Regions from separate parts of the Homo sapiens genome. Here region 2 is linked to region 1. The links are contacts of gene promoters, found by promoter capture Hi-C in blood cells and fetal thymus (Javierre and others, 2016). All regions are on one chromosome and are shown on one strand. The core of a region is centred on a gene start or on the middle of the fragment in contact, and the rest is flanking DNA. Distances in the headings are between cores, read along the strand shown.

Region 1 (7,166 bases), core at 1,507-4,006:
TTAGAAGTTAGATGAAGCTGCCTGCCAGTTATCTTGGTAGAAACTTCTTTCTGCATGTACTCAGATAAGACATCAGTACCCTGGGTGGTTCTCTGCAAAATTCAAGGTCTGCAGAGTCACCAACTGAAGTCTATTGGTAAACTTGCTTTTAAGCAAAACAAAACCAAATGGCAAATTAGTATTTCTATTAGTACATTTTGATAACAAAGAAAATAAAAGACAATTTAAAATTTATGTAACTTAAATCTACATTGCTTAAGAACATCTGACTGAGGAGTTTTAGAATATCCCCAATACCATGAAATAAATACAGTAATTAAAAGGCAATAGAGTTTAAATACTGGATAATGGGCTATGGCATTTTTAAAATTAGCAAAACATTTGTTTATTATTGAAAATTAGGGCTGGGCCTGGTGGTGGACATCTGTAATCCCAGCAATTTGGGAGGCTGAGGCAGGAGGACCACTTGAGCCCAAAAGGTCAAGACCACCCTGGGCAATATAGCAAGACCCCGTCTCTAAAAAAAAGAAAAAGAAAGAAAGAAAATTAATTTTCATAAAGGGCTCTTCCCTTGGAAAGAAATATTTTAGCTACAGAGAAAAACTAAGAAGCCTTGTGGAGCTCTGTGAAGTTGCACTGACTTGCTTTCACTTAGCTTGCAGCTCACTAGTGAGATTTCACATGGTACTCCCACTCCAAGAGCAGGGGCCAGGACAGGTTGGTTTCATTTTGGTTTGAATGCATATGCTTTGGCCCACAGACTTGGAGAAAGATTTTGCTTTACTGATGAGAACTCAGTCAAGGGTGCTTGGGAGCCTTCGCTGGCCCTCTAGCTGGGCCTGACATGTTGCCTGCATTTCTAGCCTTGCCTTCCCAGCTTGCCCATTTGGTGCAGGGAGATAGTCCAGCCCACCCTGAAATTCACTGTGTTCTGCGGATGAGTTAACTGAAGGGCTGTGTTTCAGGAGTGGCACAGAAAGGACCTGAATGAAAGGAAGGAGGAATGAATGGAGAGAACCATTTTGGTGGAATTGCCCTAGGGTATTAAATAGGATGGGGCAACTGGGGACTGGAGGATGTTCCTTCTCTTACGTTGCTTAGGAAACACTGTCCTTAAGAGTGTCAGTGTCATTCCTTTAACAATCATTCATTTCTTACCTCCCGCTTGTGTATAAATTTGCAGATTTACACAGACCACCAGTGTGGCCATCCCAGTGAACTGAGTTTATTGTGAAATATACATGCAAAAAAATCCTTTTTTCTCACCTACAACCAATGCAACATTATTCATACTTTGAGTTGAAGAATAAGGAGTTTAAGAAATAAATGCATACAGCAACATAACCCTGAATTATCACTCAAATACAGACCTCCCACTGCTCTCTCCCAAAAAAAAAAAAAAAAAAAAAAAAAAAAAGGCAGTTATTCTAAGCAAAAGCAAAAATTGAGGCAACTTAAAATAGACAATTTTAAATGCTGGATTCCATCATTTCTGTAAAAGGTCATTCTACTCCTTTGCTATTTATACCACAGATAGAGACACAGCAAATTATTGGCTGAATGGATTTGGGAAACCAGAAGCTGCTGCTTCTGACGAACGAAGATGATAATGCATCACTTGAGACTGAGTGGATGAAAGGTGTAGAAAAGTTGAACCCTTCAAAGATGAGAGGAAGCTGCTAAATTAGCCCCTGACTAAATTACTAGCCATAATTGTACTCAAGCCAGTTCTCTTTGCGACTGCCTTGTAATCTTTGTTGTGGCTTGAGAGAGAAAAATCCCCATTCCCAGCTCAAACCCGTTTAAGGCATCTCAGCCCAACCCCCTCCTCCCAATGCAACTCTTCATAGCCCCCTGCCCCTCCTCCAACAAATTCTAATCAAGTCAGGTATAGTTCTCAGCTTTACCACTGCCATCAGAAGCACGGCTTACATTAAGGGTTTAGCAACAAAACCTCAGGCTTACTTCAGGCAAACATTCAAAAGCATTTAAGAGAAGCACAGAAAACAAAAGAAATAAGCAAAACCTGTCCTTACCCGCTTCTTAAAAAATTGGAAGGCTGAGCATTTCTTGACTGGGAATCCATTCATGTCTTTGTTTACCATTTTCCACCGTGGGGAATTCACAGTTATAGATCCAGGTTGGCACCCGCCTGGTTAGTGCATATCTGTTTCCCCGGTTTACCTCCTGCAGACAGTTAATGAAGACTGAGCGGGATGGAGAATCTAGCGGGGCTCAGTTCTTCACTCGCGCATTCTGCAGCACCAGCTACTGCAGCAACCTCTCCCCACTTTCAGTTGCCACCGACAGCGGCTTTTCTCCTTCCATCATTGCTCCGAAACATATGCATCACCGCTGCAGGACCCTGGGGGCCGGACGGTGGGATACGGCCAATCTCCGGGGAGATGCTGTGGCTCTTACCGAGCGGGAGAAGGGTACGCCTCCCCGCCCCCAGCTACCTGGCTGCTCTTCCGCGGCCGGCGCGGGGAGCGAGTCGCTCTTCTCCAGGTGATGCGCTCCTGGAGGCGGCTTGAGAGAGGAGAGTTGTTTTTGATTGTGCAAGTTCCAGTGGGAGCTGTAGTTAAGCAGCTGAGAGAAGGAGTAAGAAAGAGCAGAAGCCAGAGGGAGGGAGGGAGAACAGCGCCAGAAAGGCAGAGGGAGCGAGAAGGCGAGGCTGGAAGAAGCAACGGTTCATGAATATCTGAGCAGCGGATGGAGAGAAGGCACAGCCGGCTCAGGGCACACTGAAGAGCAGTTGACTCCCCTTGGGAGGGTTACTTTAAATAGCTTCTTTTCTTTCTTTCTTTTTTTTTTTTTTTGGTTAGGACCATTTAAATCAGAGTTTCATATAAATTGCACACCGTTTTTATTTTATGCTCATTGACATTCTTTTGAATCCTGTTGCTGAATAAAAGCCTCTCAACGGAAATGTAATCACATTTAATCTCGACCTGTCCAAACGTGGAAGAAAATGAAATAAAGTGCAAGCGTAGGTATAACAATGGAAGATCTCTCACTATGTAGAAGCTCTTTTAGCCTCCCCTCCCCTACTTGTCATTATATAGTGGGCAATGGTGACGGTAATTGTGTCTTTTTCATTAAAACAGCTTATTAAAAAAAGAACACAATGAACATATACAAAGTACTTTATTACACACATACACACACACACGAGTTATTACCAAAAAGTACTACTGAATCCATTTAATGATGAGGAAGGTTTGATAAATAAAAGAGTAAAGCATTCTTCCTATTAGGTGAAAAATTTCCCAAAAAATCCTTACTCATGTTATCCTTTGCACACTGAGCTCCTTTTAAAAAAGCCATTTAATTGTATGTGGCTTATTTTTCCATTTTTATTCTTTAATGTTGATATTTTATGGGAATGATTTTAAAGATTAGTTGATAGTAAAGCAAGAAAGCAAAGAAAATAAACTTGGCATCTGACCTGGCAGAAAGCCACCAACATCGGTGTGTGGCTTTCTGCCATCACCTGACCTCACTGTGCCTTTCGGACACTGCCTCATCCATAAAATGGAGGCAGCCACTCATTCATTCATTCACTCATTCATTTATTTAGTCATTCATTATTTGCTATTTCATTCCATTAATAAATCTAACTCTGACAAGTGTCCTCAGGATGTGGAGCCTTTTCATAATCATCACAAGGGAATATAATTGATAAATAAGTGAAAGGCGCAATGCTAATTTGAAACTGATTATGACCTCATTATATATAACACACCTAACATTGTTAAAGTATTTACATGGAAGTCTCTGGTAAGAAGAGAAACATCAGGTTAAACTGGGAAAGAAATGCATGGGTTTCATTGAATTGGACTATAAATCTCTACAGTTGGGCCAGAGTTTTTGGGAATAAACATGAAATCCTGTTTGCTAAATGCCTTGAGGTTTCCAAAAAGAAAATGCAATACAACTAAATGATGGCATGATAACCAAGGGAAAACAACTATTCATTTTGGAGAGATATGTTAAGTTGTCCAAGATGCAAGTATATGTTATGTAATCTACAACATTGATAAGTTTTTGTGGTTCTTCTAAAGAGTTCATTTAAAATTATGGTAGTTCAAAGGGAATTATTTTGAGACGATGGAAGTGTTCTCTATCATGATGATGGTGGTGGTTACATAACTATGCATTTGTCAGAACTCATCAAATTTTATATAGGAAAAGGGAAACTTTTGCTGCATGTAAATTATACCTCAATGGACCTCATTTTAAAAAATGATGGTCATTCAAGTTCTTTCTTTTTCGTCCCATTGCCACTCCCCCAAAAGTGTTTTAACAGACATTTATTGAATTTGAGTAATATACAGGAGGGGACCTTTAAGCACTCTGCTAGGAAGGAGGTGCTGGGGCTTTGCTTAATCCCACATTGGCCTAGCATGCATACTGGTTGATATCATTTGGCTGTGTCCCCACCCAAATCTCGTCTTGAATTGTAGTTCCCACAGTGAGTGATTTCTCATGAGATCTGATGGTTTTATAAGGGGCTTTTCTCCCTTTTGCTCAGCACTTCCCCTTCCTGATGCCATGTGAAGAAGAATGTGTTTGCTTCCCCTTCTGCTCTGATTGTAAGTTTCCTGAGGCCTCCCCAGCCATGCTGAACTGTGAGTCAATTAAACCTCTTTCCTGTATAAATTACCCATCTCACTATGTCTTTATTAGCAGTGTGAGAACGGACTAATACCCTGGTTTCATGTAGGATGTATGTTCATTTGGGGTGCAGGCGGGTGGTTAATAGAGATTATGAGGGAGGAGAAGACAAGCTAAATGCTATCTTTTCCCTCACTCCATGCCACCTCTTGAAGATGCTGCCACTGTCACTTGGTCTATGCTAGATCCTATGGAAGGTCCAGTGCATGTAAGTGTCACTGGTTTTTGTCACCAAGGAACTCACAGCCTAGTAGAGAAATATACAGTGTGGTAAGAATACTATATACAGTAGTCCTCCCTTATCTGAGGTTTTACCTTCCACAGTTTCAGTTACCTAAGGTCAACAATGGTCTGAAAATCAGTGAGTACAATACGATACTTTTAGAGACACAGAGAGAGACCACAGTCACATCATTTTTATTATCGTACATTGTTAAAATTATTCTACTATTGTTGTTAATCTCTTACTGTGCTTGATTTATAAATTAAACTTTATTATAGGTATGTATGTACAGGAAAAAACATAATGTATATGGAGTTTGGTACTATCTGAAGTTTCACGCATCCATGGGGGGGGTCTTGGAATGTATCCCCCATGGATAAGAGTGTACTACTCTGTGTGTGTGTGTGTGTGTGTGTGTGTGTGTGTGTGTGTGGTGTGTATGCATCAACCCTGCCTTAATTTGGAGGGGGGAAGGGTGGGGCTGGATGGGTAAGAGAGGTCCAGGAAATTTACCTAAAGGGATGATGTTAGTGCATGGCCTTAAAGAATGAGTAGGTCAGTCAGATGAAGGAAGAGAAGTATAGGGCAGGGATTCTGACTATATCTGACAGCCAATTATTTTGGATTATCTTTTGATTGGTGCAATAATAGAGAAATGCATTAACTGCACTGTGTTGGTTATTCAGGAAAAGAAGGCATCTTTCATCTCACTCTGACCTCTATTTTCATAAGTAAAGCTGCCCTCAGGTAAGCCCAGAGTGACTACTGTTTACTAAATGTTTCCTTTGACAGGTCCACTGTTGATACCTATAAAGGAGCACAGGCTCCTGCTTATAATAATAAAAAAAAAAACTCTGGACTCATGCAACATCTTGTTTATAAATCAAACTTAATTTAATTAATTAACTCACTTCTTGTTCCCATAAAACACACTTATTTATTTTTGTAGCACCAGCACACAGCGGAGTGCCTGGGCCATGCTAGCACTCAACAAATGGTTTTCAAACGAATTAAATACAAAAGTAAGTATAGCTGACATCAGTGACCCTGGCACCAGACCATTTGCAGGAATCATTAAATACCTTTAAGATTCTTCAGTCATTAAGCTCTCTCCCATGATAGCCAATATGCTGAGCTCCAGTAAGAGCAAACGACCTCACTCCTCACCATTTCCTCTTTAAGCCTCAATGACACTGTAGCCCTGGGATGACACTTCTTTTTGATGGAAAATCCCAATGTTAAAAATAATCCCTTGGGCCAGGCACAGTGGCTCATGCCTATAATGCCAACAATTTGGGAGGCCGAGGTAGGAGGATAACTTGAGCCCAGGAGTTTGAGACCAGCCTGGCAACATAGCAAAGCCCCATTTCTACAAAAAGGAAAAAAAATAGGTGGTGTGGTGATGCATGCCTGTGGTCCAGCTGTTTAGGAGGCTTAGGTGGAAGGATTGCTTGACCCTGGGAAGTTGAGGCTGCAGTGAGACATGGTTGTTCCACTGCACTTTAGCCTGGGCAACAGAGCAAGACTCTCTCAAAATAAATAAATAAATAAACAAACAAACAAAAAGAATCCCTTGAACCTCTATTTGATTTTTTTGTGGTATACCTACTTTTCCTCCCAACAATATTGTTTAGGCTGTCACACAAAGAATAAAATAAAGTAGCTAGGTAGGACTAACTACCAATATGTACCTGCGGTGGAAAGACTGCTGTATTGATTTGGAACATCTTCTACCTCACTTCCATTCCCTAATTGTGCAACCTTCAACAAGTTCCCTCAACGCACTAAGCCTCAGTTTCTTCATCTGTAAAATAATAATAATAAAATGCTTCTTCACCTACCTCCTAAAGGAATTGTCAGTACCAAATTATATTTGAAAGGGTTTTGCAAAGTAATAAATAACTCTACATTTCTTTGTTTCACTAAAGCAAGAGGCATATGCCACTGTAATACTTTTTAGAAAGTCTATCTTCCCATAGATTAAAGTGTTTTTGTGTGATACATTTAGTTGTTGAATGGAATGTAATTTTTTTCGATAGCACCCCAGAATACACAAAAGATAACAAACAATAAAGTATCTGTTTAGTGACAAATGTCCCTAAGGAGAAAGGGATAAAAATACATCACCTCATGAGAAATGTTTTACATTCCTTTTTGGCCTGAGTGACTCGATCATATGCTTAAAACTCCAGCCACAGTGGTAGTGATGTATTTAATGAAGAATTAGGAAACCCTGCTGGGGATTATGGGTTTGTTTTTGTACATG
Region 2 (7,166 bases), core at 3,317-5,816, 270 kb after region 1:
CAGGTGATCAGCCAGTGAACAGAAAGTCACCAGGGGCATCTCCTGCTCAGATGGGAATCCCATTCTTGTGCACAATAGGCTCTTTGAACTCCAAATGTTCATGATTCTTCTCACTCTTTAAAGGTCCAAATGTGTAAACATCATCAAGAGAGCTTTGTTCTCATTGTTCTTTTACACACAGAATACCTATATTTTGCTCTTGTTTATGAAACCTATTTCTGTTGCATGTTCTTACAGCCACAATGAGGACCTTTTCATTTTGAAGTATTATCTCAGGGCTGTAGTGGAAGCAGATTCAGCTGAAAACCAGGCTTATTGTAAAGAGTATAAACATGAGCTCCCAAAGTGTGGTTGCTAGGGTATCATCACAATAAAAAACATCCACATAGGGCTTATTGCCAGAAGATAATCAAGGACCAAGCTGATGGGAAAAAAAAAATAGTTGCCAGCGGTTCCATTGAGAGGTGGTGTCTGAGGTCAATGTCAGTGAGCATCTTCATCATTGCTTTTTTGAAAGGTTAAAGTTTCCCAGTCTGTATGCGGGAATGAACAAAAAAATGTATACCCTGAAACAATAACATGCAGAGACAAGATAGCGTCAGAAAGATAAAGCCTCTTCAGCTGCGTTTCCTGACAGTCCTGCCCAGCAGGACACTTCCACCTCGAACCTAGAGCTGGGTTTCTAAAGGATAATTATACCAAGTGATGTCATGATGGATGGCTTCTTTCCAACAGCTTCATGGCTTATCTTTTGGGACAGGGAGTTAAGAGAGATAGCAGGCCGTGAACCGTTGTCACCGTATGACTGGGGCAGAGGGAGACAACAGGTTAAATGTTGGCGTTCTAATTCATCTGGGAGTGCAGGGCCTGGGTCCCTGCTTTGGAGTCCTCTGAAATCAATCCTTCATTAATGCCACTTCTTTAACAATACAAACATCGGCCAGGTGCAGTGGCTCACACCTGTAATCCCAACACTTTGGGAGGCCGAGGTGGGTGGATCAGCCGAGGTCAGGAGTTCGATCCCAGCCTGGACAACATGGCCAAACCTTGTCTCTACTAAAAATACAAAAATTAGCTGGGTGTGGTGGCAGGCGCCTGTAATCCCAGCTACTCAGGAGGCTGAGGCAGGAGAATCACCTAAACCCGGGAGGCAGAGGTCGCAGTGAGCCAATATCATGCCATTGCACTCCGGCCTGAGTGACAAGAGAGAAACTCCATCTCAAATAATAATAATAATTATAATTATAATTATACAAATATCAATATATGATCAACTTCACTTATGTATGCAATTTTTAATCCAATTCTTTTGTAGCACTTGCTAAATACTAGAGAACGTTCAAAGCGTATTACATATATTTACTAATCTAATCACTCCTATGATGTAGGTAGTATCATTATTCCTATATTATAAACTAGGAAACTGAGCACAGGGGGGTGTGGTGACCAGTGCAGGTCACATGGCTGATGAGTGGTAAAGCCAGGACTCCACCTGGACCCTGGAGTCTGTCCTTGGCCTTTTCTTTTAACTCACACTGTTGCCTTTTCTGACCATTTTTTAAAAATTATTATTCTTTTAAATACTTTTTTAGGCAAAGCTTTTAAAAATAAATCATTTATTAACAAAAATTCAGAATCATAAGTTTTCATTATAGGATACCTTAAACTTGATAATTTACTTTTTACATTTAAATCACATGTCATTAATGCTTTCAGTCATAGGTGAAGTAGCATTTTTTTTTTTTGAGACGGAGTCTCACTCTGTTGCCCAGGCTGGAGTGCAGTGGCACCATCTCACCTCACTGCAAGCTCCACCTCTTGGGTTCACCCCATTCTCCTGCCCCAGCCTCCCGAGTAGCTGGGACTGCAGGCGCCAGCCACCACACCTGGCTAATTTTTTGTACTTTTAGTAGAGACAGGGTTTCACCGTGTTAGCCAGGATGGACTCGATCTCCTGACCTCGTGATCCGCCTGCCTCAGCCTCCCAAAGTGCTGGGATTACATGCGTGAGCCACTGCGCCCGGCAGCTTATTCTTTAACAATAGCAAAAGAGTTGGCCTCCTGATATTCTTAGCTCATGCTTCTCAAACTGGAGTGTACGTATCAACGTGTGTGTTTGCAGCCAGCTCATGGGAAATACGAGGTACATCTCTCAAGAGTATCCACATTTATGTGAAGATTTCAAGGAAATTACGTGAAATCAAATCTGAATATTTATTACAAGGCAGAAGGAAAAATGAATAAGATGAAAGAGGAGAAATCCAAGAAATGTTGGGTTTACAGCAGTAAGTTGGAAGACTAGCCTGAGACTGAGGGACTCTGGGTTTGTGTTCATGACCCCCTGCCATTTTAAACCACTTTGGTTGAAAAGTCTAGCGGGATGTGGTGGCTCAGGCCAGGTGCAGTGGCTCAAGCCTGTAATCCCAGCACTTTGGGATACTGAGGTGGGCAGATCACCTGAGGTCAGGAGTTCAAGGCCAGCCTGGCCAACATGGTGAAACCCTGTCTCTACTAAAAATACAAAAATTAGCTGGACATGGTGGTACATGCCTATAATCCCAGCTACTCAGGAGGCTGAGACAGGAGAATTGCTTAAGCCTGGAAGGTAGAGGTTGTAGTGAGGAGAGCATGCCACTGCACTCCAGCCTGGGTGACAGAGTGAGACTCTGTCTCAAAAAAAAAAACAAAAGAAAGAAAGAAAAAAAGAGTCTAAGAAGCAATTAAAAAAAATTCAAGTGCCATTTGTATAAAGTTTCACAAGACTTTTTATGTTGTTTTCCTCAGAAATATTTATAATTTTTAGCACTTTTGTAATTTGAGGGAACGACTAGAATTAAATGGTGAAAATAGAAAAGGAGCTTCTGATGTGAGTGCCATAAGCAATGTATTTTACAAAGTGTGTGAAGAGAAATGAAAAACAAACTTCTTTATTTGAGAGAAAGAAAGGAAGGAAAGAAAGAAAGAGAAAGGAAGAAAGGAAGGAAGGAAAGAAAGAAAGAAAAGAAAAGGAGGGAGGGAGGAAGGAAGGGAGGGAGGGATGGGGAGGGAGAGAGAGAGAGAGGGAAGGGAGGGAGGAAGGAAGGAAGGAAGGAACGAAGGAAACAGAAAATAATTTACTCTTCCCATATTTAGCTTAGTCATCTCTTAGGGACCACCGTGTTCTCTGAACCATCTCTGTGGGCACAACATTATCTCAGGCACTGTGGGCAGCTTCCAGGGAAAAGAGGAGACATGCTTTTAACCCATTAGCAGCTTCCAAGAAAATGATGCAGATGAAATGAACATAATCTATAATGCCTGGAAACACAAACAAACACATATGTATATAGCAGCTGAGGATTGCTTTGTTTTGGTAATATGATTACATATGTGTAAGAAAGAAATTATAGGGTCTAGGTCTATTCATTTGGTGCTTCAGTCCCCCATAGATGTAACACACACCAATTCAAATAGGTAGGCTTATGCATGCCCCCTGTATATAAAGCGTCTGTCTATCTTCACGTAATAAAGCAAATATAGACAAAGGCATTCTCTAAACCAAAGGAGTTTGGGCTGTTTGGAGATCCTGTTATTAGGTCACAGGAATAATTCAGGTTAAATTTTCACAGTCCCTCTATAAGTGAACCATTGAATACATAAAGCATTGAACACACAAGGGCTGTTGGCTTTGATGGTTGGCAAAGTCCACACACCCAGCTCTACCTTTCTTTGCACCACCCTACCCTGCTACATTTTCAAATCCACAGGCAATGTTGAGTGAAAGCTTACTCAACACTGCAGGCACCCCAGGAGTTATCCTGGTGAAATACATAAATGTTCTGTCCTTTCAGATACAGCAAGACTCTTTCAGATTTTAGTGGCTAAAATATAAAGTTTGTAGCCAGTCTTGGGGAAACCTCAACTTCAAACATGAGACAAAATTCAATTCAAGAATCTAGCTTTGCCAAGTTTCTCACTCTATCTGTTTGACATCTTGGTCTTGTCCTTCATCAGGCTTTACTTAAAAAGTAAAACTGAATAAAAATTGATTTCACAATCAACAAAACTTAGCCACTCTCCTGATGTGTTACTTAGCTTAAAAACAATTCTAATTCAGTTCTATAATATAATTATATAACTTAATTAGGTAATTCTACTTTTCAGGCAAAAGTATAACCTAATAAAATCTTCTCAAATTTTATACTCAACAAATCCATGAAGCACAAAAAGGGCCAAACATTTTCTATTACAAAAAAAAGAATAGTTTTTTAAGAATCCATTGAAGACTCCACAATTATACTTTTACATAAATTGACTAAAAATTTTTCCCCAAATCAGAAAGTCGAAATCCAAGAAACTATCAACAAATATACTTTAAAAGGAACAAATAAGTTACTATGCAAAAGAAGCAGAGACTATGTTCAAGAGAAGCATAAATATTCAAATATTTATTTTTTCAGATTTTGTTGGTCTGAATAGCTACTGAGTTTTATACTAATGTCTTTAAATCTGTTACTATGCATAACATTCTACTTGTGGCATGTTTTAAGACACTCTTTGGTCATGTTTTTGCACATTTATAAAATAACAAATTCAGTGTTATTACTCAACAAACTCATAACATAACTGATCTTGTAAAAACGTCATCACTGATGGGAAAGATCCATGCCTACGTTATGACTAAGGGAAGCAGCCCAGTAGCCTCCGGGAGCAAGCAGCTATATGCATCATCGGGTGCATTTGCAAGGTTGGAATTCAGAGCTTTTGCAACAGGCTTCATCCAGGAGGCAGGAAAATAGCATGGGTGTGACTTGGGAAAAGAGCTCCAAGTTAACTGTGGGAAGCCATGGGAAGCCGTGGGAAGGCCACTTGGTTCCCATCTTCTCCCTCTTTCCTGCACTATATCTAAACAAACCTTTTGACAACCGGTAAACTGGGAATTTTGACTGTAGGATCCACAGTTCTAAGATATTTAAAATCTTCCCCTTTTGCAAGGGAAATTATTCAGCTCTGAAAAATTTAGTAGGCTGTTTGGGGGCTGGGTTCCTAGGGAACTTAACTGTTTTAAATAATGCTCTTTGACCTCTAAGGAACAGAGACCCACTTTACTTCAGGGCAGGGCTTGGGTGTTACCTGAAAATATCCACACAGACCAGAATGGATCAGAAGGTCATAAGGCCCTAGATGTTCCCCAGTTTTAGGCCCTGGTCTCTCTCCTTTGATCTCTTTCATGTCCCCTGTCTCATGACCTCTCTGACTCAGTATCTCTCGGTGACATCACTTTCTTCTTCTTTTTTTTTTTTAACCTTTTATTTTAGGTGCAGGTTTGTTACGTAGACAAACTGTGTGTCTCGGGGGTTTGGTGTACAGATTATTTCGTCACCCAGGTAATAAGCTTAGTACCCGGCAGGTAGTTTTTGATCCTCGCCTTCCTCCCACCCTCCACCCTCAAGTAGGCCCCGGTGTTTGTTGTTCCCTTCTTTGTGAAAGACATTCTTTTCTGACCAGCTTTTTCTCTCTTTTCTATGCCACGTCATAACTTCATCTTGCACGTGGCTTTGGCTTACGTGAGCCTGTGGCAATTTGACAGCTCCAATAAAATTACTTCCTGGCAATTCATTCCTTGTTGTTGAGTCCAAATTGCCAAAGGAAAGACTCTGGTTGGCCCAGCTCATCTTTGTGTGCCAGCTCCTGAGTATGTGATGGCAAACCTATGTGCTGGCTGTCTTGAGGTCAGGCTTCTGAAATCTCTGTGCGTGTGTGGGGTGCAGCTCATGAGTTTACAGAGCAAAGACTACAGATGGAGCACACTCCCCAGAAAGGCCTGTGGCCGGGCCGAAAGTGGCCAGTATCTCTAGGAAACTTTATTTTTAATATGCTCTTGGCTCTTTATTAAAATATTCAGCTTTTCATTCAACACATTTTTATCAAGCAATCTCAATGAGTCAGATACAGGGGAGACATCAAAATTTGAGGGGCAGGCTGGGCACGATGGCTCATGCCTGTAATCCCAACAGTTTAGGAGGCTGAAGCAGGCTGATCACTTGAGGTCAGGAGTTCGAGACCAGACTGACCAACATGGTGAAACCCCGTCTCTACTAAAAATACAAAAATTAGCTGGGCATGGTGGCAGGCACCTGTAACCCCAGCTGCTCAGAGACGGAGGTAGGAAAATCGCTTGAACCCAGGAGGCAGAGGTTGCAGTGAGCCGAGACCACGCCACTGCACTCCAGCCTGGGCAGTCAGCCTAAGCAAGACTCCATCTCAAAAACAAACAAACAAACAAACAAACAAACAAACCAAAAAACAAATCGAGGGGCAAATGTGGCTTCTTAGAACAATTTCCCCGGTGACTCCCTGAGATGCAAGTCTTATCCCCCAACAGACTTGTGAAGGGTCAGGCATTTAACCCTCATCATTTGCAGGATGTTTTTGCTTGACAACGCTATGAAATTTATTTATTCTGTCAGAATGGAGGAAAGATGTTTTTAAATACATAATCTCCACCTCTACGTAAAAATCTGGCTTGTATCTTCACAGCACAAAATTCAACATTGGACACCCCCTCAATAGTTTTGGAGGATCTATATCACTTCAATTTCTGAAATGATTTAAATATGAACATATATTTATATATAAATAGAATCACACTAAGATATACATAAAAGCAAATACAGGTGCCAAGGCAGGAAAGGCGGAGGCAGATGGTGTATGGAGAGGAGAAAAGGGGATCCATGTGAAGAGTGATGCTTTCTTATTTAATAAATTCTGAGAGTCCCAGGTTAAAGTCTTGCCATGTTTGTTTGCTTGTTGCTTATTTATTTGGTTGCCATGTTTGTTTTGACTCTTTTTACTCTTGGCAGATACTCAAGCAGTGAAAGATCTGCTTAAGCAGCCCAAAAGCTGCATAAATGCTTTAAATACACCTGATAAATGCTAGCTACACCTGGATTTTTTACTGAAGCAGTGAAAAAGATCTTTCGCTGCCTCAACCAGGTGACCAAGGTCAACATCCACAGCGTAAGTCATGTTCATGGTGTGCAGCCTTGATAAATGGGGTAGCAACAACCCTTCACTTTGTGGTCTACCCTCCAAAGACCCAAAACCCCAGTCTAAACATGAGAAATACATCAGATAAATCCCTGCCGAGGATCATTCTAAAACACACCTGACCAATGCTCCTCAAA

What was found. The method cuts DNA at HindIII sites, captures the fragments that hold promoters and counts their contacts. A CHiCAGO score of 5 or more calls a contact.
Region 2: a contact is called between a fragment that was not itself captured here and the fragment with the promoter of SGK1 in region 1, in 1 of 17 cell types (neutrophils). The highest score is 8.7, in neutrophils.

The regions. Positions count from the first base shown.
Region 1 is chr6:134,315,356-134,322,521 of GRCh38, forward strand. It overlaps SGK1 (serum/glucocorticoid regulated kinase 1), which reads right to left and starts at 2,757. Exons shown (of 14, transcript NM_001143676.3): 1 at 2,037-2,757. The coding sequence starts at 2,105. RefSeq lists an enhancer at 2,305-2,584. The HindIII fragment of the contact is 10,717 bases long and covers 1-7,166 here.
Region 2 is chr6:134,585,018-134,592,183 of GRCh38, forward strand. No RefSeq gene overlaps it. Among named protein-coding and RNA genes, the nearest start is that of LINC03002, 49 kb to the left of the region's middle. RefSeq lists an enhancer at 1-385. The HindIII fragment of the contact is 1,611 bases long and covers 3,762-5,372 here.